4 separate regions of the Homo sapiens genome follow, and all the other regions are linked to region 3. Evidence: promoter capture Hi-C in 16 types of primary human blood cells and fetal thymus (Javierre and others, 2016). All regions are on one chromosome and are shown on one strand. Each heading gives the region's core, a stretch centred on a gene start or on the middle of the fragment in contact. The rest is flanking DNA. Distances are from core to core; before and after follow the strand shown. Region 1 has its middle 77 kb from the start of PLSCR4. Region 2 has its middle 50 kb from the start of PLSCR4. Region 3 holds the start of PLSCR5 (phospholipid scramblase family member 5). Region 4 has its middle 30 kb from the start of PLSCR4.

What was found. The method cuts DNA at HindIII sites, captures the fragments that hold promoters and counts their contacts. A CHiCAGO score of 5 or more calls a contact.
Region 1: a fragment that was not itself captured here is called in contact with the fragment with the promoter of PLSCR5 in region 3 in 1 of 17 cell types (monocytes); the score reaches 5.9 in monocytes.
Region 2: a contact is called between a fragment that was not itself captured here and the fragment with the promoter of PLSCR5 in region 3, in 2 of 17 cell types (total CD4 T cells and monocytes). The highest score is 5.5, in total CD4 T cells.
Region 4: a contact is called between a fragment that was not itself captured here and the fragment with the promoter of PLSCR5 in region 3, in 2 of 17 cell types (naive CD4 T cells and total B cells). The highest score is 6.1, in naive CD4 T cells.

Annotation. Positions count from the first base shown.
Region 1 is chr3:146,325,037-146,331,328 of GRCh38, reverse strand. No RefSeq gene overlaps it. Among named protein-coding and RNA genes, the nearest start is that of PLSCR4, 77 kb to the right of the region's middle. The HindIII fragment of the contact is 1,801 bases long and covers 1,475-3,275 here.
Region 2 is chr3:146,297,773-146,304,728 of GRCh38, reverse strand. No RefSeq gene overlaps it. Among named protein-coding and RNA genes, the nearest start is that of PLSCR4, 50 kb to the right of the region's middle. The HindIII fragment of the contact is 1,887 bases long and covers 2,604-4,490 here.
Region 3 is chr3:146,602,345-146,608,927 of GRCh38, reverse strand. It overlaps PLSCR5 (phospholipid scramblase family member 5), which reads left to right and starts at 3,582. Exons shown (of 8, transcript NM_001085420.2): 1 at 3,582-3,728. The coding sequence starts at 3,716. The HindIII fragment of the contact is 8,012 bases long and covers 1-5,552 here.
Region 4 is chr3:146,277,211-146,284,006 of GRCh38, reverse strand. No RefSeq gene overlaps it. Among named protein-coding and RNA genes, the nearest start is that of PLSCR4, 30 kb to the right of the region's middle. The HindIII fragment of the contact is 4,771 bases long and covers 1,159-5,929 here.

The DNA of each region.
Region 1 (6,292 bases), core at 1,126-3,625, 280 kb after region 3:
CTGATCTCACGGCAATCTTCTACCTATGAAGGAAAAACTAAATTACTATGTTACAAAAACAAAAGCATTTAAAATACCTGTCATCTATGAGGTATTTCAATTTACTCATCCATTCATTTATTGATACAGTCATATTTTTCACAGCCACCATTCACATCTGAGTTTAATTTCATTTATTAAGATATATTTTTAGATTCTTTTGTGAAAGATACTTGTTGTTTGACAGATTCACTTGCATTGAAAAATTTAATTGTTGGTCATACAAAGAATATCAGATGATCATAGACAGACTCAAACAATTACCTTGATGAAGGGAAAGAACTATAGCTAATGGGCAGCCAAATACTACTTTGTCCAGATGTGACCTAGCCTGCCTGTTAGTCTGACAGATAACATGGAATAGACAATATGTCTGGAGATGTGGGAATACTTTATTCATAGTTCTGGCAGATTCACAGTCAGTTATAAAAATTATTCTGGGGACTACTACTATATTTCCTATATCCTTGAATTGTTTATTCTTAGTTTCCTATATATTATAACATTTCAATATTTCTGTTTGTTTTCTGTGTCTGTATAGCTCTCTCTGTTCTGTCCGGTTTTGTGTATTCCTGTCTACCTGTAATTTTTGCCACTTGTTTGAGATATGGCCATAGGACCTTCCTAGATATGGAAATCAGAGAAATGTGGTGCTGTTTTCTTAACTGACAGCAAGCTAATATTGTTGGCCTTTTGAGAGATCATTGTATACTATCACTGTTCTTTGCCTGTGAATGAAATCACTTGAGAGATAGGCAAAGGAGTAAAACTGACTTCATCATTAACCTGATAAAGCTGTTTAGAGGACAAGGCTTCATTCTCTAGCAATAATAAATTTGCAAAAGGGTGCTGAATCAGAATTACTCTCACTGTCTCAGGCAGAGCTGGAAAAAAACACAGCCCTTTATTCTAGAGTCCTACCACCATAAACCTCACTCCCTGAAAAACCTAGGAATTCGCGCTGTCTGTTAACAGGCTGTCTCTCCAAAGAGAAACACAGCTGAACTTCTCATACCCAGTTGCTTTGCTCAAACTCCCCAAGAACAATCATTTATCCCTGATCCCTGAGGCAAGTAAATGAGGGAACAGATAAAGATCAGAAGTCTTCTCTAATGCCAGTATCTCTACATGGAAATATCAGCAATGGAGAGTAATTTTGGTAGAGGTATTGCTTGTTCCCTTAAGTCTCTTCTTCTCCCATAATATCTCTAATTTCACTGATTCCACATGAAACCTGGAATACACAGAATATTTCTGACCCTTCTATGTAACTAGGTTTGGAGATATGGTAAAGTTCTGTCCCATTAGATGTTAATTGTCTAGTGGGTACTTTAACAGATAATTGGCACATACCTTTCCTTGATTCTTTCCTTATTCCCGCTGGATACACGAGAAAACCATTGTTTTAAAAAATATGTCCAGGAGTTGATAAGCTTAACTGAGCAATTTATTTAAAGTTGAATAACCTAATAGAGTTTTAAAGTTTTTTTCTGGTTACTTTTATATAGTTTATATTTATATAGTTTATATAACACTGTTTATATTAGCATAAATGGAATCAATTATTTGCAAATGGTTTCCTATAATTTGGCATGTTGTTATACTTGAATATAAACAGGAAGAATTGCCTTCATACTATTGCTTCTCCTTTTTAATTTCCTCTCCCTTGATTTTCAGATGAAACAAGTCTTTCAGCATCTTCCTAAAATGTGAGAAAACCTCCCAAGCACCCGTAAAGTAATAAATGTAGAGTTATTTTCTCTTTAACTGGTTTACAAGTCATCAATGAAGAGACACCACTATGTAAAATTCATTTATCTGAATCCAATAGTATTTTCAGTTTGCCATACATTCCCAATAAAACATAATCATCCCTAGTATAGAAAACGTTGTCACCAAACAAACTCAAATTTCTATGGAGGACTAGTGGAGTGAGTTAGTACTACCAGGGGCTCCCTCAAACTGAAGACCACAAATGGCATGTAAAGGGAGAAACTAATATTTCGCACAGGCAGATTGTCGCATTAGAGCATGTGAACAGATTGCCAGGCAGTGTAGGCTAGGTTAAGCTACGGTGACAATCTCAAAGTTTTAGTGGCTTATAAAAATAAAGGTTTATTATTTACTTACATGTCCTTTGTAGGTCATCAAGATACTTTTGTTCATCACAGTCACTCAAGGACCTGCTGCAGAAAAGACTTAATCTTGACCCAGTCTTTCCTAAGTACTAAGGCAGGGGGAAATGGACACAGGCATGGGAAAGTAAATATGACAACACAGGCACTAGTTCTTAATATTTCTCCCCCAAAGTGACACACATTACTTACAGTTACAATTCACTGGCCAAAGCAAGTCATATGAATACAATCAACTTCAAATGACCAAAAAAATGCAATCTTACCATCTTCCTGGAAGGAGAGAAAATAGCTTGTAAATAGGACTAATGACTATCTCATATATGTTCTGTTTCTTATGTTTGTTTGGTTTGTTTTCACGAATTCTGCTTCACTGTTGGCTTTGAATTTATCATTTAATTTTTATCAACTAACATCGTAGTTTATTAAGGTTTATTTAGCAACTGAGTAATGGTAGTAAAAGGCCCTGAGCATTGATGTCAGTAAGGGAGATGAAAGACATATAGAGAAGTTGCTTGATTGCACACTAGCACAGGTGTCATAGATAAACCTCTACTCACTTCAAAATGTCGTCTGCCTTAAATGGTTAAAGTTTAGAAAACTGTTAAAAACCAAGTGTTGGTAAGAGTATAGAGTAACTTGACTTACACTTACTGTACATAAGACACAAACTTACTCTAAAATTCAGCCAGTTTACTCTTAGATGAATACTCGAAGTGCAAATGTTTACCAGATTTTGTGCACAATATTTGTAGTAGTTATATTCATAACACCAAATGCAAACATCCTAAATGCCATCAATAGAAAAATGGACAATTAATATGTATTATACTCACACAATGGAATACTGCAAAGGAATGAAAATGAGAAACTACTGATGTGCAATATAACATGGATAACCCTCAGAAGTTATCTCTATTAGTATGATCTCTCCAGAAAAATAGAATAAATAGGATAGCTTTAGACAAAGATGTACATGTAGGCTTATCATAAGAAACTGGCTCATGTGGTTATGAAGGCTGAGAAGTTCCATGATCTTCAGATAGAAAACTGGAGACACAGGAGAGCCAATGCTATAGTTCCAATCTCAGCCTGAAAGCTTCAGGTGAGCTGATGGTGCAGGCTTCAGTCCAAGCCCAAGTCTGAAGGCAAAAGAAGACCATGTCTCACATAGAGGACAGGTAGAGAGAGAGTGAATACTCTCCAAGCCTACCTTTTTGTTCTGTTTAGGCCTCCAACAGATTGGATGAGGTGCACCTACATTTAGGTAGACAATATGCTTTATTCAGTCTAACAGTTAAAATGTTAATCTTATCCATAAACACCTTCACACCCAGTATGTTTAACTAAATATCTCACTACCCTATGGTCCAGTCAAGTTGACACATAAAATTCACTATTACGCTTTATTAAATGAAAGAAGCAAGAGTCAAAAGAATATACCCTGGATGATTTCATTTGATGAGTTCAATATAGGTCAAAATAATGACTTGAAGATAGAAGCAAGCATTGTGGCCACCTCTTTAGAGTGTGCTGAATGGTATAGCACAGAAGAAAACATTTTGGAGTACTTCAAATGTTCCATATCCACCTAGTTGATACATGGATGTATGTATAACACTGAAAAAATATTTAACTTGCTTATTTAAATTTGCACACATTACAAATTATATGTTATACCTCAGTTTAAAAATGATATATTTGTCCTTTCACAAAAACAATAATTATTCAGCTATGCATAAATGAAAATAGCTCTGGGAGAGTTCAAGATTCTATTGAAGAAGTTGCAGCCACACAGTGGCGCAATAGAACCAAAAATAACTTCACAGATAGACTGGGAAGAACGGTTTCATTTAGCTACTTTTGTTTAATTCCTCAGGCCAGCACAGCTGCTCACCGTGAGAGGTCATCTTGGCCCATGAGTTCTCCTTATGAAGGAAAAGAGGATCAAGATGAACAACCAGTTTCCCCAGCTTTTAGGCTGAAGGAATTACTTTGGTTTTAACCCAGCCAGATTGCTAGGGAAATCAGCATAGCTGATATATTTGGAGATGGCTAGGAACAAGGGGGTAGGAGCCATTAGTATCAAGTACATGGCAGCAGGTGCTACCTCAGTTCTCAGTGGCCCGCCTTGCAGAGGACTCCAATAATGTCACCATTAAGGACCTCAACAACCTTTATGGCCACTGCAGACTCTTGAAACCTTCACCACAAAGGGGTCCATATTTTCCCTTTTCTGACCTCAGTTGCCTAAGCTGCAGCATCTGCTGCAACCACTGAAGGCACCCTAGCCAGTGATGCCATGGAGACTCCGGACCCAGTATGGCCACTTTGTATAAATGTATACAACTAGGCTCTGCTCCCATCACCAACCTCAGCTCCCATTGTAGTGGGCACACCTGCAGTTGGCCCCTGTAGCTAACTACAAGCATGTTGCCCACTTCAACATCCACCTACCCAGTCATGCTCACCACTTGACCAAGAGATGCCAGTGTGATTCCCAGCAACCCTAGTGGCCATCGTGGGCCCTATGTAAACATCAATTCCAAGACCACACATTTGTCAACATTGCATATTCCAGCTCCCTGATCACTGATCCACCACCACTTGCCCCAAACCCAGAGTTGAAGCACACTCCCACAGTTTTTGTCTTGAACACCACTAGACCCAGGGCCCAGAGTACACCCACAAACAACCCTACTTTTGGCATCCCTTCATCCTCATTCCTCCTCTGCAGGTGAAGGTTTTTCCTTACCAAAGCCAGTCCATAAAGTCTGTGATAGGTAACTGCTTCTCAAATGTGCAGACACCAACACAAAGAAACAAAGAACACACAAAAAAGGAGGGAAACATGAAATCATCAAAGGAATGTAATAACTGTCCAGTAATTGACAGTTATTCTAAAGAAGCATAGTAAGGTAAGAGAGAACATAGATTAAACATTTTTTTTTAATCAGTAAACAGCACAAGGACAAAGTGAGTAGGACAATATAAAGAAAATAGAAAAAAGAACCAAACAGATTCTGGAACTTAAGAACACAATGGCTATGCTTAAAAAAATAGAGTGCTTTGGTTGGGCGCTGTGGTTCACGCCTGTAATCCCAGCACTTTGGGAGGCCGAGGCGGGCGGATCAAGAGGTCAGGAGATCGAGACCATCCTGGCTAACACGGTGAAACCCCATCTCTACTAAAAATACAAAAAAATTAGCCGGGCGTGTTGGCGAGCGCCCGTAGTTCCAGCTACTTGGGAGGCTGAGGCTGAATGGTGTGAACCCGGGAGGCAGAGTTTGCAGTCAGCCAAGATTGCACCACTGCACTCCAGCCTGGGCAACAGAGTGAGACTCTGTCTCAAAAAAAAAAAAAAAAAAAAAAGAGTGCTCCAACAGCAGGCTTGATCATGCAGAAGAACGAATCAGCAAATGTGAAGGTTGACCACTTGAAATTATCCAGTAGGAAGAGAAAAAGGAAAAACAGTAAAGAAAACCTAAGTGACTTATGAAGCACACTGAAGTGAAAAAACACATTTATAATGCGAATTCAAGGAGAAGAGAAAAGGAAAAAAGTATAACTCTCATTTAAAGATATAATAACAGAAAGCATCCCAGATCTGGAGAGGGAAATAGACATCCAGACTGAAGAAGCTCATGGGACCCTAAATAGATTGAAAAGAGAGAGGTCTACATTCAGACATAACAAAATTGAACTGAGAAATTAAAAAACAGAAAATTTTGAAAGCAGCTAGAGTAAAACAACTCATCATACACCAGGGAAATCCTATGAGAATATGAAGTATTGCTCAATAGAAATTTTGAAGGCCAGGAAAGAGTAGAAGGACTTATTTAAAATACTAAAAAAAAAAAAAAAAATTGCCTACCCAAAATAACTAAACCCTAAAGAGGTATCCTTCAAGAATGAAGGGAAGATAGTCTTCCCCAGAAAAACATACACTGAATATAAATTTTCACTACTAGATCTGCTTTGTGAGAAATACATAAGGGAGTTTTTCAAGTGGAATTGAAGACACACTAAACATTAATATAAAAGCACATGAAAATATAAATCACACCAGTAAAGGTAAATACATAATCAAATACAGGATAATATAAAACTATTGCTGG
Region 2 (6,956 bases), core at 2,298-4,797, 300 kb after region 3:
ATAGGATTACTTTTTGATTTCTTTTTCACCTTGTTCCCTGTTGCCATATAGAAATGCTACTGATTTTTGCACTTTGATTTTGTATCCTGCAACTTTACTCAGTTTGTTTATCAGTTCTAATAATTTTCCTGTGAAGTCTTATAGGTTTTTTCCTAAAATAAGATCATATCTGCAAACAAGGATAATTTGATATTCCTTTCCATTTAGGATGCCCTTCCTGTCTTTATGTTGTCTGAATGCTCTAGCTAGGACTTTTATTGACTCTCTGGCCATTCAGAAGCATAGTTTAAAATTTCCATGTATTTGTATAGTTTCCAAAATTTCTCTTGCTATTAATTTCTAGTTTTATTCCATGGTGATCAGAGAAGATGCTTGATATTATTTCATGTTTTTAAACGTTTTAAGACTTGCTTTGTGACCTAGTATATCGTCTATCCTTGAAAATGATCCATGCGCTAAGGAAAATAATGTGTATTCTACAGGTCTTGGATGAAATGTTCCATAAATATCTATTAGATTCATTTGGTCTATAGTGCAGATCAAATCTGATGTTTCTTTGTTGATTTTTTGTCTGGAAGATCTGTTCAATGTTAAATGTAAAATGTCTTCAGCTATTATTTTTGGGGGGCCTATCTTTCTCTTTAGCTCTAAAAATATTTCCTTTATATATCTGGGTGTTCCCATGTTGAGTGCATATATATTTAAAATTGTTATATCCTCTTGCTGAATTGACCCCTTTGTCATTATATAGTGATGTTCTTTGTATCTTCTTAAATTTTTTGTCTTGAAATCTATTTTGTCTGATATATGTATAGTGACTCCTGCTCTCTTTTGGTTTCCATTGACATGGAATATCTTTTTCCATCCCTTTATTTTCAGTCTATGTGTGTCTTTATAGGTGAAGTGCTTTTCCTGTAGGCAACAGATAAATAGGTCTTGTTTTTTCCATGCATTTAGCCAGTCTGTATCTTTTGTTTAAAGAGTTTAGTCCATTTACATTGCAGTTATTATTGATAAGAAGTACTCCTGCCATTTTGTTATTTGTTTTCTGGTTGTTGTGTGGTCTTCTCTTCCTTCTGTCTTTCCTTCGTGTCTTCGTTTAGTGAAGGTAATTTTCTCTGGTAACATGATTTAGTTTCTTCCTCTTTCTTTTTCCTGTATCCATTGTATGTTTTTTGGCTTTAGGTTACCATGAGACTTGCAAATACTATCTTATAACCCATTATTTTAATCTGATAACAACTTAATATTATTTGCATAAACAAACAAGTAAAAACAAAACTAATAAAAACTCTATGCCTTAACTTTATCCCCCAACTTTTTAACTTTTCATTATTTATATTCATATCTTACTGTACTGACTATGTCTTGAAAAATGGTTGTAGCTCTTTATTACTATTGGTTCATGGTTTAGTCCTTCTACTTAGGATAAAAGTAGTTTATATACCACAGTTACAGTGTTATAATATGCTGTATTTTTCTGTTTACTTACTATTACTAATGAGTTTTGTAACTTCAGGTGATTATTTATTGCTCATTAATATTCTTTTCTTTCTGTTTGAAATATTCCCTTTAGCATTTCTTGTAGGACAGGTCTGGCATTGATGAAATCCCTCAGCTTTTTGTCTGGGAAAGTTTTTATTTCTCCTTCATGTTTGAAGGATGTTTTCACTGGATAAACTATTCTGGGTTAAAAGTTATTTTATTTTAGTACTTTAAATATGTCATGCCACTCTCTCCTGGCCTGTAAGGTTCCCACTGAAAAGTCTGTTGTCAGACATATTGGAGCACCATCATTTGTTATTTTTTTCTTCACTCTTGCTGTTTTTAGAACCCTTTCTTTATCCTTTACCTTTGGGAGTTTGATTATTAAATGCCTTGAGGTAGTCTTCTTCGAGTTTATTCTGCTCGGTGTTCTATAACCTTGTACTTGGATATTGATATCTTTCTCCATGTTTGGGAAGCTCTCTGTTATTATCACTTTAAAGAAACTTTCCACCCCTGTCTCTTTCTCTACTTCCTCTTTTAGTCCAATAACTCTTAGATTTGCCCTTTTGAAGCTATTTTTTAGAAGCTGCAGGCAAACTTCATTGGTTTTCATTATTTTTTCTTTTGTCTCTGACTGTGTGTTTTCAGATAGCCTGTCTTCAAGCTCACTATTTTTTCTGCTTGATCCATTCTGCTAATAAAGGAATCTGAAGCATTTTTCAGTATGCCAGTTGTATTTTTCAGATCTAGAATTTATGATTGATTCTATTTCATTGTTTCAATCTCTTTGTTAAATTTATGTGATGGAATTCTGAATTCCTTCTCTATGTAATATTGAATTTCTTTGAGTTTCCTCAACACAGCTATTTTGAAATCTCTGTCTAAAAGGTGTCATATCTCTGTTCGTCCAAAATTGGTCCCTGGCAGCTTATTGAGTTCATTTGGTGAGGTCAATGCTTTCCTGGGTGATGCTGATGCTAGTAGATGTTCTTCGGTGTCTGAGCATTGATGTTAGGTATTTACTGTAGCCTGCTCTATATGGGCTTATTTGTAGCCATCTTTCTTGGGAAGGCTTTCCAGATATTTAAAAGAACTTGGGTGTTATGATGTAAGCTTTATCTTTAGGGAGCACCACAAGCCCAGTAAATTTGTGGTTCTTGCTGACTTGTGGAAGTACCACCCTGATGGTCTAAGAGATCCAGAAGAATTCCCTGGAAAATCAGGTAGAGACTCTTGTTCTCTTCTATTACTTTCTCCCAAACATATAGAGTCTCTACCTCTGTTCTGAGCCACCTAAGGCTGGGGATGGAGTGACACAAGCACCCCTGTGACCACCACTACTATGACTGTGCTGGGTCAGACTTGATGCCAGCACAGTGCTGGGCCTCACCCAAGGTCTGCTAAACTACTCTCTGACTAGGGCTCCACAATCCACAGGTGGGAATGTCAGTCAGGCCTGTGTTCTTCCCTTCAGGGCTGTGAGGTCCCCCAGGCTCTGGTTAGATTCAGAAGTGCTGGCCAGGAGTCAGGGACTATAGTCAAAATCCATATATGTAAGTCTACCTGGTGTTCTATTGTATTGCAGCCAAGCTGGCACTCAAACCACAAGACGCAGTCCTTCACACACTTCCCTTCCTTTTCCAAAGGCAGAGGAGACTTACCCCATAGCCACTGTGCTACCCCAGGCCCAGGACTACTGCCAGCCTACCACTAATGTTCTTTTAAGCCCCAAAGACTCTTAAGTCAGCTTGTCTTAAATGCTGCCTGGCCTGGGACTCACCCTTCAGGACAGTGGACTCCTCTCTGGCCCATGGCTGGCCAGAAATGCCATCCAAGGGTCAAGTCCTGGAATTGGGGACCCCAAGTGCCCACTTGGCACTCTACCCCTCTGTGGCTGTGCTGGCACCTAAGGTGGAAAAAAAAACCCAAAAAACCTTTACTTTTTTTTTCTGCTTTTCTCAAGCAGAAGGAGTTTTTCCTCATAGCCACCACAGCTAGTAATGTGTGAGTCTCACCTGAAGCCAGCAAGTCTCAGAGGCTCACCCAAGGCCCTCGATGTAATACCTGGGCATAGCTACAGGTTATTCAGCATCCAAGGACCCTTCAGTTAGTAGGTGATTAATGCTGCCAGGACTGGGTCCTTTCCTTCATTGCAGTGGGTTCCCTTCTGGCCAGAGTGTGTCTACAAATGTTGTCTAGGAGCTAGGGCCTGGAATCCGGGCTCATGACTCTGACTGGTACCCTATCCTGCTGTGGCTGGGCTGGTATCCTAGATGCAAGACAAAGCCCTCCCCACTCTCTCCTCTGTTCTCCTCAAGCAGAAGGAAGGGGTCTGTTTTGGAGCCATGAGCTGTGCAGCCTGGGGTTAGGGGAGGGGTGATGCCAGCACTCCCTTGGCTGCCCAAGCTGGTTAGTCACATGTCCCCTCAGTGCAGTCTCTCTGGGCCTAGTTCAGCACTGGGACTCACCTAAGAGTTGCAGTCCTTATGGCCTAGACTACCTTTCAAGTTTACTTGGAGGCACAGAGTGCTATAGTCCTTGGTGGTGAGGTCTGTGAGCACTCAAGTTCAGACCATTGTGACTGGTAATTCCCATCTGACTAGGGCTGGTTTAAATGCTCCCTCCATGGGCCAGCATCAGCTGAGTTTAGTCTGGTTTTCCTTTCTGCTCTAACAAGACAACACTGAGTTCAATGCCTCACATTGCCATGTTCTCCCTCACCTGGAGCACAGAGATGCTCTCTGCACCACACCACTGCTGCCATGGGTAGGGGAAGAGGGTAGCACTGGAGATTTGGGGCTTTTTTCCTATCTCTTCAGTGCCTCTTTCAGCTATATGAAGTTAAAACCAGATACTGTGAATGCTCACCTGACTTTTGGTTCTTATGAAGATGTTGTTAACTTGGTGTCCTTGCAGCCATGGATGATCTGTGGAGTTTTCTATTTTGCCATGTTGTTCTGCCTCTCCTGGGGCATATTTCTATATCATTGAATATTCAAGCTTTTAGTAGAAAAAGGTTGGGAAAAAATTGGAGGAATTGATGAAGTATCTTTAATTTAAGTAGGTCTAACAAATGTCTGATTCATGGAACATGTTTTGTTTTAAAGTTATGTCCCATATAAACGGAGTCTAAAACATTAATATTTTACAAACAGTATTGGTATGCGGGTGAGATCTCTATTGTATAAGAGTTATTCATTTTCCTCAGGAGTAAAAAATATTAAATGAATTATTCACAAGAATATAGAATGTGTTTAGGTAATGAAGGCTCCACCCTTATGAATGGATTAATGCCATTCTGAAAGGACTTGATTCTCCCAGCCTTTAGAAATGGAAGAAACAAATTTCTGATTATTATAAATTACCTTGTCTCAGGTATTTTATTATAGCAGTACAAATGGCCTGAGGCAGGGGCAGAATCCAAGAAGTGTGTGTCCTAGATTTCATATCAGTTCAAGGTTAATAATGTAGTGAGAGTATGGCCAATCTGGAGTAAGGTCTCAGTTACAGCTAAATCTATGCAAGCCCTGCTCCTACAGACCCTGCAATTGAGGCATCAACCACACCCTGCTGGTGTTATTATGGAAAATCTTTGAGAACTGAGGCCAAGAGTATTTAGAAGTGTAGCCAAATATGAACTAATTGTTTCTCCTTGGGAGGAGTTTGTTCCATGGATTAAGGGAGAAAGAGCAAAGAAGGAATTTGCGATACGTAAAGTTTTTTGACCTGCATACTCAAAAGAGTTTGTAAACTTCTTGTTTCTCCTGCTGCTGACTCAAGTCGGAACCAGTGTAGTTAATAAATCATGTCATGCATGTTCATTCTAGCCTGTTCATTTTCCACCAAGTGGGAAAAAGGAGACCTGGGAAAAGATGGAAGTTTATTTCCTGGTAACTGTGATTAGAGCAGCCATAGCAGCCTTTAATTAGATTGCTTTCCTTGTCCTTTCTGTTTACCAGGAGTTTCAGTCACCTATAGGTTAGGTGGAAGGGGAACAGAAGGTCTTAGTTAATGCAGATCATTAAAGAGAAAAAAATAACTTGATTCTGATTTGGATAAATTGTGTTCATTGGGTCAATTTCCAATTTGAGGCTCAATAGTAAGTATATACCCCGAAGATCTCATGTCTCAAGCAGCTCTGGCTGATTTCCTGCTTGTTTTTTAATTCACTATTATGTATACAATATCACCCTCTGCTTTCTTGAGAAAATAATGTCAAGCTCCCACAGAGAAACTCCTCATGTGGGTAGGAGCCAAATTGGAATAAAGTAACCCCCATGCTAAATCTCCCATCTGTGTGCTTGTATATCTTTGAGAGCTTTGTTTTAGGACTCATATTAATTAGTGAACTGAACCAGTTAACTCAGGCTCATGACTTATCTGCCACCTGAGACTTTGAAAGTAAGAAAAATGCACAGGGCAGTGTAAGATATCAGGAAGTGACGGGGGAAGGCAGAGGAACTGACAGTGATGCCCAGTCTAATGTCTCTCAAAAACAATCAGACAAACAAACTACTTTGCTGGCCAAATCCTAAATTGTAGTTTGGCGTGATTAGACACAAAAGTCTCCATTTGCAACCATATACAAATAGTGTTGTCTTCCCTATGCACTACTTTTTAGAGGCAAACATCTTATTAATACAAATTAAGAACTTAAAACAATTTATTATAAGCAGAAGTATTTCATCGTGATCAAAGTGGGGAATATGAAAACACTCAATTAGAGTTACATTCCAGCTCTGCCAATTATTAGCTCTGTACGTCACCTTTCTCTTACCAGGTCCATGTTTTGGGCAAGTTGTTTAACCTCCCTATACCCAGTTTTTCCATCTGTAAAATGGAAAAACTACTTACCTATATAAATTGTGAGAATTAAATATTTATTATGTGTAAAGTGCTTATAATTACACCTGGCATATAGAGAGCAAGCATTACAAATGTATTATTATTATATTACTTTTTCTTTTTAAAATGAAAGTCTATTGTTAACTTGATATTTCAGGTTTATATCAGACCTGTATTATTCAATTTTTCAGAAGCTATTCAATTGCATTGCCTTTTAAAAAATACTTAAAACATAATTCTATTTCAATTTTGAATTAACAGAAATAGAAGAAACATATTCATTACAGCTAACCCTTAAGCTAAGGATCTCCCACAGCAGTGATTGTCAAACTTAATTGTACATCAGAATCACCTGGAGCATTGTTCAACTACAAATTGCTGGGCCCATCCTCAGAGTTTCCCATGCAATATGCTTAGGGTAGAGCCAAAAATATTGTATTTCTAAGTATTTCAAATATAATATTAATGCTGCTGCTCTGAGGACCACTCTTGAAAACCATTGTCTTAGTAAATGAAATCTACTGTTTGTTGGGGAAATAATTTTGGAAATTTAAACAGTAAATTTATTCTGTGTATGCATGTCCATATATAAAGTGATTATTTAAAAGATGTGTAAAATTAAT
Region 3 (6,583 bases), core at 2,333-4,832:
TCAAAAAACAAGTAATTATCTCTCACTCCATATATTTGCATATATATGTATGTATGTATATGTTTGTATATGTATGTATGTATGTATATAATTTTTAAGATACATACATTTTATAGTAAAGCCAGAGGAAGAATAACCATAAGTCCAGTAAAGTATTTCTAAAGCCAGTTCATCCCAGTCCTTGGTTTTGCCCCAGAACTGTAAGATTATGTCTTACTCCATTTTCCATTCTAGAGAATATTAGTCTTTGCTTTGATTTATAACAGGCAACATTTCTATTCTGTCACTATATAGATTTAATTGACATTTCTCTCACCTTGTACTGAGAGAAAGCATTTTGATGCGTCTTTCAGACATTAAAATGTAAGTCAAATACTAGCCACTAAATAAAGAGTAAAGTTATGAACATCACTGTAATATTGAATGGACAACTCTTTAGAAACACCTGTGATATGTCCTGAAAATAGTCTATGGGCAGAAGGTAATTGTGCAGCAATTATGGTGCAATTTGTTTCCATTTCCTTTTGGCTGGAATGGAAGAAAAGGGGGGATATATGAGGCTCCTCTTGTTTCAGGAGGTACAGGACCAGAAAGGCAGATCATCCTGAGTAAATGAGCAAGCCCATGCAGCAGAGCAGCAAACCAGTGGCTCAGGAGAGAGCGATGACCAATAGGGAGTTTCCTGGGAAGAGGCAAAGCCCATTCACCCTATGGTTTCTGATATTCGTGTTCAAGTTTCCTGTTTCTTACAGCAATGCCCTCGATGTGATCTCAAGTCTTCAGTACTGTGTTAGACATGCCCACCTTGGGTTGGAATCAAGTGAGTGGGCCATAAAAACTGCAGGCTGGTGGCAAAGTCAAACTGATGCTTCTTGAAAAGGTCAAGGGCTTCATGGCACAGAGCCAAGAGGATGGTATGACCATCGTTCTTCTAGGAAGGCAGCAGGTGTTAGGAGAAGAGCACTGAGTACTATGAAGGTGAAGTTGAATGGCAGCAGCAATAGCAACAGGAGAGAGGCCAGCTTGTGGAGCAGCATCTCCTGGCTGCGTGAACACACAGTGTTAGGACACTTGAAACATGTGAGAGTCCTATTAAACAGAGTTTTGTGAGCCTCTCCTTGAGAAAAGCTGAGAAAAAGAAAGGAATGAACAAAAGGGAGATCTCAGGTTGGCAAACACTTAGCCTTTAAAAAGAAAAAAAACATTGGTATTGTCTTTGGCAAGACAGGGAGAGTGCATAAGGGAAGAAAAATGCATTGAGTATACCTCACCAGTAGCATTACCAGGTTCGATGATCTGAAAAGCCTCCACTGCAGATTAAATATTAAAAGATCCCATCAGTCAGTCATATGCCCATGTCATCATATGCCCAAGTCATATATGGTTGTCTTTGGAGAGTTCACAAATATGTTTAATTCACTAAGATTTTTATTTTTATTCCAAAATTTGTGCTGTGTAGGGCAGTCAAAATTAACTGGTGAATTCTGACCACATTTCAAAACATCTTGTTTGATAGCAGCATGATTTATATTCCTTTAGGTATATACCCAGTAATGGGATGGCTGGGTCAAATGGTATTTCTAGTTCTAGATCCCTGAGGAATTGCCACACTGTCTTCCACAATGGTTGAACTAGTTTACAGTCCCACCAACAGTGTAAAAGTGTTCTTATTTCTCCACATCCTCTCCAGCACCTGTTGTTTCCTGACTTTTTAATGATCACCATTCTAACTGGTGTGAGATGATATCTCATTGTGGTTTCAATTTGCATTTCTCTGATGACCAGTGATGATGAGCATTTTTTCATGTGTCTGTTGGCTGCGTAAATGTCTTCTTTTGAGAAGTGTCTGTTCATATCCTTCACCCACTTTTTGATGGGGTTGCTTGTTTTTTTCTTGTAAATTTGTTTGAGTTCTTTGTAGATTCTGGACATTAGCCCTTTGTCAGATGAGTAGATTGCAAAAATTTTCTCCCATCCTGTAGGTTGCCTGTTCACTCTGATGGTAGTTCCTTTTGCTGAGCAAAGACACATGCACACGTATGTTTATTGCGCACTACTCACAATACAAAGACTTGGAACCAACCCAAATGTCCAACAATGATAGACTGGATTAAGAAAATGTGGCACATATGCACCATGGAATACTATGCAGCCATAAAAAATGATGAGTACATGTCCTTTGTAGGGATATGGATGAAGCTGGAAACCATCATTCTCAGCAAACTATCGCAAGGACCGAAAACCAAACATCGCATGTTCTCACTCACAGGTGGGAATTGAACAGTGAGAACACATGGACACAGGAAGGGGAACATCACACACCGGGGCCTGTTGTGGGGTGGGGGGAGAGGGGAGGGATAGCATTAGGAGATGTACCTAATGTAAATGATGAGTTAATGGGTGCAGCACACCAACATGGCAGATGTATACATATGTAACAAACCTGCACGTTGTGCACATGTACCGTAGAACTTAGAGTATAATAAAAAAAATTTTTTTAATCTTCTTTGATAGTGTTAATAACTTAATTTTTTGTATTAAAGTTTTTCTAAATGCTCACGACAAACATTAGAAAAAACTTAGGAAACATACAGTTTAATTTAAAAATATTAATCATATTCACACATCTTTTCTGCAAAACGACAACTTAAATAATGGTAGCTTTTTTCAACTCCAAACACTAAGAAAACTACAACAACAAAACCACTCCTCTTTGTCAAATAAGGAAAACTCAAACTTTTGGCAGTCTGCAAACTGTGAGGTTGACTTTATAATTTTTCATCACAAGGTATACCTCCTGAAGCCTCTTAACTATTTTCAGAAAAAGACAGTGTTGCTGATAATGCAATATATCCTGCATGTTCAACCTTTGTGAATCATACCATGTAGGGCAATTGACTTGGTGAGCAAAATCTCCATGGTCACCTGGGTAGCTGCATTTAGAAATAGGAGCTGTCCAGTCAAGGTTACAGCACTTGTTTTCTTTCCTTAGAATTCAATGCAGTTAAATATCATCTGTAAATTTTGATTAGCTTTGCAAGGCTATTGAAGGTTTGTATATTCCAATGCCTCTGATTAATCAAATTCAATTAAAAATGAAAATAAAGATTTATTTATATAATAGTAGGGAATATATCCTCTTCTTATTTATTTTGAGTTGAAGAGATGGAGATAAATCCAATAGAAAAATAACAATAATAATGTTCAAACATTTTCAACATGTAAAGAATTGTATTTAGAACTATCAAAAATTTATACAATAGGATGTTTTATCACAGAATCTGGAAAGGAGACTTCTAGAAATTGAGAAATACAGGATATTTCTGATATAAGACTGAATGCAAATGTGTATATTCTAAGAAATACAAAAACAACTTGGTAAAAAAAAAAAAGACACTTAAAATGAGTGCTGTGTGCTTTCCTTTCTGGTTTTTATTATTTTTAAATTGTTCCTTCAGCCACCAAAGTTATATGATGGTTTCTGAACAGCGTTTACTTTTGTGACAGTTTCATCTCACTCTGTTGTCCAAACTGATAAAGTCCAGAAGTCTAGAAACAGCAAGGGACTCCCTTCCTCTGTTATATGTAAGCTGACAAGAGGCAGACAAACACGTTCTGAAGTTTTGTGCATGCTGCGTTTTCTCTCCTTGCTGCAACAAGAAAAGCCTTTGTTTTCCAACCTGGCAACCTTTGAAGAAGTGACTCAGACATCTTCATGGCCTCTAAAGGTAAGAGTAAATATAACCAACTAATAACTTTTTCTTATATTAAGACTAAAAATATACAATTGTGGATGTGTTACAACCAGTTAGATTGGTACTTTAAAAGCTGTCATTTGTCACTTTTGAACATTGTGATTTTAAAATCTTAACTCCCAGGAGCATGTTGAGTTACATGTAAAAACACTTTATCTGACAGACTGTAAAAGTTCAGATGTAAACGATGTTTTAGTTATCATGAATACAAACATAGTGAATTAATAAGAAAAGCTGCATAGCAAAGTTTAGAATGGGAATCTTCAATGTTAAACACAAGGACAGGGTGATATTTTAAGTTTAAAAGGATTTGAAGAAAACTTTTCACACATAAGTTAGAAAGTGTTAAAGTGCAATTTAATAATTTTTTTAATTAAAATATTAAAAATTTATGTGGGTACATAGTAGGTATATATACTTATGGGATACATGAGATGTCTTCATACAAGCAGGCAATGTGAATTAAGGACATAAAGGGGAATGGGATATCCATCCCATCAAGCATTCAGCCTTTGAGTTACAGACAATCCAGTTACACTCTCTAAGTTTTATTTTCCCATTTGTTATTCAAATTATGTGATATAGCCATTTATTATAAAGAATCTGACATGCGTTATTATTGATTCTTAAATGTGATGGGCTAGAAATAAGTATTTCTGAATTATAAAGCAAAAATATCTTGAAATTTCCTTATGGTAAATTAAAGATAGAAAACAAACAGAAAATATCTGCTTTAAGCGCACAGATCACTTAGCAGACTTTTGGGGAGTAGGACTGATGAGTTTTTTCTCAAATTCCTAAAACTGCAAAAATATCATTACGTTATCTTACTTTAAAGAAGGTCTAAAAAGACAAGAGATGTAGTTGTTTTTAAAGTAAGTTGCAATCTCACTAAAAACACTTGTGAAACTGTGTAAGAAATAAAATTATAATGTGCTTTCATTTCATTGTCAGAATGAACCACTAAAGCCTAGGCTATAATGAAAAGTTTTAGCATGAAGAATTATAATTAGTATAATTGGTGAAAACCTTTTAAATTAATTACAAATAGGATAATAGGGCTCATCAATTTGTAATATCCTAAATTAGTGATCCATTCAAACAAATGTGTATGCTTACTTGCTTCCTTTATCAAAACACACTTTTGGTCACTATTTAATATGAAACAAATGAGATAATCTTTCCATTTTTTATCAATCTTTAATGTAGACCAGTCCCTCAGTCCCTCAGAATCACTGAGAAAGCTCACACAAATTGTAAAACATAGATGTGAAATAGCAAAATCATGAATTTAACATATGTGTCATTTTTTTCTATCTGAAGACAAATAAACAAAAAACCTTGACAAATATTTCCTTTCATTTAAGACTGACACTACTATTTAGTCCAAAATACTTCATCACTTTATAAAATAAGAGTTACAGCAATACTGTAGACTGTAAGGTAAAAAGTTGCAGAGTGTATAAAATATTTATAAGCTAGTTATACATTTTTAAAAGAGTAGATAGAAATTCAAAGCCAGTACGAAATTCAAAGGAGTTCCTTCTTCATCTGGTTGTCTGAGTCTTTGAAGAAACTTGTGACTGGAAAGTAATATTATGTCAAAATATGATTAATCTAACAGGAAGCAGTGATGTTCCATAATGATAAAGACCCAAGTCTAAACTTAGAAGCAAAACTTCAGGTGGAAAACTGACCCTCCTTCTGCAACCGGCTCAAAATATTTAATGCATGGAAGGATAAAACACCTATTAGAGACTTCATACTACCTAGGAGAATATAAGTGATAATGAAGCTTTCTTGTGAATTAGATATCTTGTTTAAGAGGGCAAGTCAAATTATCACCATTATCTAAGTAAAACATTTTTGTGGATAGTTTTCTTCAGCTGTATATAAACACATTATTTATAACATCATGTTTTCTTGTCCAGTAACTATATTGGCAATTAGCATTTTCCCAGGGAATGCAGACTAATTGTACATTTCACATATTTCATAGGCAGATCAATCAGCACTACTAAACCAAAAGACAGTCTAAATACCAGGTGCCATTAGAACTGAAGAGACATTTGTGTGAGCTGGAGCATCCTGGCTTAGTAGAAATTAACACAATTTAAGAGCAAGTTGCTCTCAAACACGGTGATCTGAACTGAGCAAGAGCTGTCTCCAAAGGTTGCTTCAATGTGAACTAAAATCCCAGAAGAAGCAGCTAGTGATCTCAGAATAGTGATGTCTCTCAACAGTCTCAGGCAGAGACTCACTCACACTCTACTCCTAAATAAAGACTTTGGACACAATATCCTCTGAGCTCCAAGTGCATTAATGCTTCTGGACTTGCTGTGAAGTCTAAGGCCCTCCAGGACTGGGCGGGAATGTACAGCTACTTGCCAAACCCTCCATAACCTACTGCATTTTGTTACAGCAAACATAATTTACAAGATAAAATTGGGGTAATTTGTGAATCCCTTTAACAATTAAGTTTACAATGAGAGAGAATCTAAAAATCTTATACTAGCTATTGTTAGAAATTAATCCCTACACATGGTTTTTAATTGAGAGATAATATGTGCAGTGAAGTACATAGAGCACAAAACCTAGGCTCCATGATTTTTAAAATAAGGACCCATTCATGACCACCACCAAGATCAAGATATAGACATTTCTAGATTCTATAATGTTCTCTTTCTAGCCAATAGCCATGCATCCTCCCTTTCCCAAGATGGACCACTATTCTGGATTTTATCATTGTGAACTAGTTTTCCCTATATCATAATTTTGCTTCTATGTTTTTCTGAAAGTGACAATGGTACATTTTGCACTAACGCTAA
Region 4 (6,796 bases), core at 2,295-4,794, 320 kb after region 3:
CACTGTGCTCAAGGAGAAAGATACTCCTTTGAAGCATTGGAATGTGGCCAGACATACCAGCTCCTAGTTAAGCCCACTCCCCACAGCTGCTCTCCAATAAGTTAAAGAATAACCAACACCAATCTGTGTAATTTAAATTGTCACTGAAGTGTGAGAAACACTATAATTTAACGCAGTGATTCTCAAACTTAGCTGCACATTGGACCAGCTTTAAAAAAAACAATTGGGACCCTTAAAAAACTATTGATGTTTTGTTGTAGGTGACAGGTGCATGGAGGTTAACTATAATGTATTTCAACTTTTCCATGTATTTGGGAAAAGTCAGTATATTGGTCTCATTAGTTATCATTTGCACATTTATTTCATTAGTCAAGTTGAGCACAGACTTCAAAGTAAATTTGATCAAAGAGAACACAGGAGATTTTATTTTTCTTGAGATTTCCAATTTTTTCTTTTTTTCAAAGTTTTTCCCAAATTTTTAATATTGTCTCACTGAACTATAACTATATTTGTTGGCATTATAATTTGCTTAGTTCTGTTTGTTATACAATGGTGGTTATTACATGTGAAATGCAGAGTTGGGAAGAGATATTTGTAATTGACTTTTGTTAGCCTGTGCAAACTGACTACAGCACACCCCTGTTCTGACCTCATAAAACAGGTTGGGAATCATGATTTTTCTTTGAAAGTATTGGTGTAAGATTGGTATTACTGTTTCCTCTTTAAATTTTCTTTAGCATTCACAGGGTTTTGATTGATGGATTTGAACACTGGTGCTATTATTGCTCTTGAAAATCGTATATCCTCAACTAAAAAAAAAAAAAATCGTCTTTTTCTGTGAGGAGTATGGCCCCAATCACATTGTCTTTCAAGAGACACTCTTATTTAAAATGTGACATATTCCAGAAAAAATAAAATCCAACTAAAAAAAAAAAAGAAAAAGAAAATGAAAAGGCAAAAAGAACCTCATGATTCTACTACCTGGCAAGAACATTTGTAGTTGGCTAGATAATTAGCAGCAGTTTTGTCAAATGCTATTGAAGAAGGATTTACGCTAATAGTAGTTCACTTAATCTTCTACTAAAACATTAATTTAATCAGTGGCTTACTTTCTCTTTAGCTAAAGCATTAGCTAAATTGCATTGGGAAAATAAAGCTTAGAGGCAGAAACTAATTGGAAACATTGCTTTTAGGTAATGAAGGACTTACGCATCTATTTTGGAGATTCATTTAGTTTTAGTTTTAGGAAACTTCACGTAACTCACCTGAAAAGCACATAATTTTAATGGAAATATATAAATGCCAAAGTCATTGAATACAGGCAGAGCTCTGTCATTTCATTTTGTTTAACTTCACCAAACACTTCATCAAAATTTTCCAAAATTTTGGTGGCCCAAGAAGATGATCAAGGCAATATTCCACTACTTAAAGAAGTTAGTAGAGGAGCAATACATATAAACCTCTACCAGGTGATGGGGGAATTAAAGAACTTCATATACGCCATTATAGAAATGAAATGAGAGAGCAATACAATCTTTACAGGTAGGATATAAATACATTCTTTTTCTATAACAAAGTCTATAGACATTGTTATTCTCACTCCCTCTCCCTCTCTCTCTTTTTCTCCCTGCCTTCTTCATTCTCTCTCTTCTTCCCTTCTTCTATCAATTCCCACTTGTCTCTCATTTTGAAGATAAATTCTGAGAAGGTTCAAAGTATCCTTTGAGGATTTTAGAAGTCATATTTGTTCCATGTCCTGTGGCTTGCTAGGAGGTGTGCTCAAGCCTAACAAAGAGCATTCTAGACAGCTACAGAAAGACCCAGTGGGGTATCTTCTTTTGGAGAACTCCAGAAGACATCACCATGGATGGAGAGCACTTCAGCAAGTGAGCATGCTGATCCCAGGGTTGTCCAGGAACAACTTTGCTGGTTGCTTACTCTATATTTTTATCACACTGATTACAAACACAGAGACTATTTAAAGAGTTGTCTGTATCTTTTCCAAAAACAGGACTGGCTACATAATTCAGTGAGCCCAGGGCAGACTAAAAATGCTGAGCCCCTTTTAAAAAAATATTAATATCTTCAAGATGAAGATGTAACACATTAAGCCACATGCAACTGCACAACTCCTAGGCCCACAAAGCCAGCCCTGTCCAGAAGGTAATGTCACTTTAAATATTGAAGCCAGCTAAATCTCTCCTATTCTGTCTAGTACTGGATACCATAGGCATTAGAATATAGCAAGTTCAGGTCAGAATCCTAGCTCTATCACATATCAACTATTGGATTTGGGACAAGTTATTTTGAGTTTCATTACTGAAATATAGTTATGCAAATTAAACTTTCATTCACATGCCAACATCACATATAAATTATACTTGTAAGTTCTATTCTTATGAATTTACAAATAATGTTATGTGTTATAAAATAAGAATGTATAAAAATTTGTGGCTTTAAAATTTTGGTATTTGTTTTAGAGTATTAATTACAGATGGCTGTTCATATCCACGGGTTCCTCATCTGTGGATTCAACCAACCATGGATCGAAAATAATCAGAAAAATTAAAATGGATGATTGACTTTGTACTGAACATGTAGATTTTTTTGTCATGATTCCCTAATCAATGCAGTAATACAACTATTTATATGGCATTTAAATTGTATTAGGCATTATAAATAATCTAGAGATGATTTAAAGTACATGGGAGGATGTGCATAGGTTATATGCAAGTACAGCATGAATGTTGTTTTGTTGTAACATTGAAGAGAAAAAAAATCAATTCTTGGCCTGGACCACGTCTGTGTTGAGTTTGCACGTTCTCTCCATGTCTGTGTGGGTTTTCTGCAGGCATTCTGATTTCCTCTCACGTTCCAAAGATGTGCATGTTAGTTTAACTGGCATGTCAAAATGGTCCCATTCTAAGTGAGTGTGGGTGTGTGTGCCTAATTGCTCCCAGCAATGGAATGGTGTCAGCCTTGGCCCTGGGCTGCTGGGATAGGCTCCAGCTACCCGGGATCCTGAACTGGAGTAGTTGGATAAACATTTATCTGATTTGTTTTTTTGAGCCTTTCTTAAAGGTATATATAGCTCACATTTATTTCACTGTTGAATATCAGAAGTGTTTTGGTCTTTAATTAGAAGTTTGGTGATGTTTTTGTGACAAGAAATATGCCATAAGAACTTAATTCTTATTTATGTCAATTAGCCTATGATTAAATAGATTTTGTTATACATTGTTTTACTTAAAGTTGCAGTTTCCAAGAACTTATCAATGATGATGAGAATTTATTGTGCTACAACTTTTTTATATGAGGAGCTTGAGCATCCATAGATTTTGGTAGGGATTCTGGAACCAATCACCCATGGATTCCAAGGAACAACTGTATACTAATTAAAACAGTCTTTTGGAGTTTTTTTTTCTTGCCCCCTTGGCTATCAATTTTATCGCATTCTCAGTTGTGAGCTACTAATCAAAAGTTTGATTCATGATTAAAAATACTTTTAGATGTTTTTAATATTTAAGTAAAAGTTATAAATTTAGGATTAAGAACATAATATAATGCATTATATATGTTGTATATTGTATTCTTCATTATAATCATTCAAAATTAGTTTTTGATACTCATAGGTACATCCATTTAAATTACACCATGCTTAATAATTTTAAAGATTCATTTATTTATGTTTTGTCTTTCAGTCTTATACAGAAAAGCAGGAGTGCTAATTTTGGACTGTGAAGCTCTCTCTCTGGGTGGCCTGGCAACTTTTTTCATTGTCTTCCAGTGCTAGAGAACTGGCTTTTTAAAGTACATCATTAAGAAACTGGCCCCAAAACTGAAAGTGTCTATTACCCTGAGCAAGATCATTGTTATGCTTATTCCATTAAAAAAAAAAAACAAAAAAAGCAGCGAGGGGCAGAATATCTCTGCCAGGACCCAGCTCCATGGTCCAATCACAACTCTCTAGCATATTACAAAAACAAGAGACCCTCATTCCTGCTGACCCTCTGCCTGTGAGTTCTTACGTACATTACGTGATGCTTGCTGCTGTGTGCTGCTCCCGGTCTTTGGAAGAGAAATCTTAGTAAGTCATTGTGGAATAACTGAGGCAAAATTGTAGCTTTACAAAAAAACTGTGGCAAGAACAGTTAATGAGATCTACCTTCTAAACAAATGTGTAAGTTTTAATACAGTATTGTAAACTTTAAGCACAATTTTATACAGCAGATCTAACATCCATCTTACAAAATTGAAACGTTATGCCCATTGAATAGCAACTCCCTATTTCCCCCTCCATCTAGCCCCTGGCAACCATTCTAATCTCTGCTACTATGAGTTGACTATTTTAGTTACCTCATATAAGTGGAATCAGGTCATTGATCTTCTGTCGCTGTCTTATTTCACTTAGCAAAATGTCCCCAGGAATTCTTAACCTTATTTACCAGAGAGAAACATAAAGATGGGTGAAGTGAAATTACCAAGGTCACAAATCTAGTGATCAGCATTAATTGTCATTTGACTTTCCTATTCCAAGATAAATCATCAGTGATGCAGGCTTCTTGAGGGTGGAGGGGAAGCTAACATATTACTTACAGAGCCTCTCACAAGCACTTTTTATGTATTGACACATTTCATTCCATAACAAACCTCTAGGACAGGTACTAATATTACCCCTTTTTTACTGTGGAAGAAACGGAGGCAAAAGGAAGTTTGATAACTTCCTGGAAGTCATCTCCCCTTTAGTGAGTTGTAAAGCTCAAGTTCAAATCCAGATATCCTGGGGCCAGAGTCCATTTTCTTACCCTCTAGCTGTATTGAAACTCACATACTGGCTCAGGAACCCTTTCCTACTGCTAGGAATGCTGTCCAAACATAGCCATTCTGGGTCAAATAACCAGTTCTTTCCCTGAGGCAGGGAAAGGGAAGAATCTCTCCACTGGGAGTCAGGTTGTTGTGCAGGGCATCCGCAGGTAAGCAGAGCCAAGGTTGTGACCCAAGTCACTGGTGGGGTAGGCCAAAGGCAACAGAAATGCAGGGAGATGATGGGATAAATCAATAATCTTAAATCCATCAGATGACAGTTTATGACATATTTTTTCATGTCACCCATTAGGGATTCAAAATCATCAAAGTCACCAACACACTTTTTGTGCAGGACTGCTCTATGTATTGCAGGAGGCCTAATATCTCTGTGCATTGTCCTTTCAATGCTAACAATGTCTGTATCAAAGTGGCACCTACAAATGCTCCCTTGCACACATTCTGCCATGTCCAATATGAATTCTATGACTTGGTTTGTCCTATGCTGAGAATCACCGTGTGAACTCCTGAGGGGCGATCTAGAATCAGGAGTCCCAGGCAAATTATCTGTACCTCACTGCGATGTATCTTGTATCTTAATTTGCTTGGCTTTGCAGTAATTCCCAATTCCTGAGGACATGCCCTAAATTTCTCCCAAACGAGACCTCTACTTTTCCTTCATCTTCAAGAGAGAGTCTGAGTTCATCCATGTGTCTATAGCTTCATCAAGACTGAGTCCAAAGAAACAAAAACTGGAAGCAAAATGTTTGAATGACTTCCTGATGGGAAAACAATCATCTGACTAGAGTGGCAATATCCATGGGTAGATTCTTAGAAAACAAGTAAGGCAGAAGAACTTCCAGAGGTGACCAAAATGAAAGCTCTGGTGAACAATTCTAAGTCAAAGTCCTTAGAAGACTGTCATTAATTAGAGACAAGAGACAAATGCCAAGTCTCCAGGGCAGAAGCAAGTGTTAAATGAAAAATAAAGGATCAAAAGTCAGGAAACAGATGGAAATGGAATTTAAGAATTAGCAGGCCAGGAACATAAGAGTTGGAATGGTCTGGGATGACAGCCAGACTATTGTGTGTCTTGGGCCAGTTACTATTACTCAATGGTAAAGCTTGCACAATTCTGTGAATATAACAAAAACCACTGTATTTACAGTGTGAAAAGGTGAACTTTATACTATATAAATTATGTATCAATAAAGCTGTTATTTTTTACAAGTATATGGTTAGTTGAGATAAATGATAAATCAAGAAGACAGAATGTGGCAGTAATCTGTGAACCTAGTAGTCTCAAGACCTTTAAACTCAAAATCTTTGTGGATACATAGAACTGAGAGAAGCTGAAATACAAATCTCAGCCATGGCTATTAGCAGTCAAAAGTTGTGAGATTAAGATATCATAGATTTGAGAAAGTGACAGAGGGATTAAATTAGTTTCTTGATCTGAACAGTATCCTCTGGTATGTGAATGTAAACTTATTTTCTATTCTGAGGTATTTGGAGTTACCAGGAATATAAAAGGCATTTCCAAAGTATTATATCTTATGAACTTATTAATAGGATTCATATAAAATATTTTCTTTAAACCTTTTTTTTTTTTTTTTTTTTTTTTTTTTTTTTTTTTTTTAGAGACAAGGTCTCAGTCTGTCTCTCAAGCCAGAATACAGTGGTGCAATCATAGCAATCATAGCTCACTAAAACCTCAAACTCCTGGGCTAAAGCAATCCTCCTCTCTTAGCATCCCAAGTAACTGGGACTACAGACATGCTAAACCTTGCCTGGCTAATTTTTAACTTTTTTTTATATAGAGAGAGGGGTCTCCCTACATTGCCTAGGTTGGTCTCAAACTCTTGGCATCAGGTGATACTTCTGCCTGAAACACCCAAAGCGCTGAGATTATAGGCATGAGCCACCATGTCAGGCCTTTCTTTAAATCTTTATTGAAAAGTATTCTTGTTTTATAATTATTTTTATATGTATA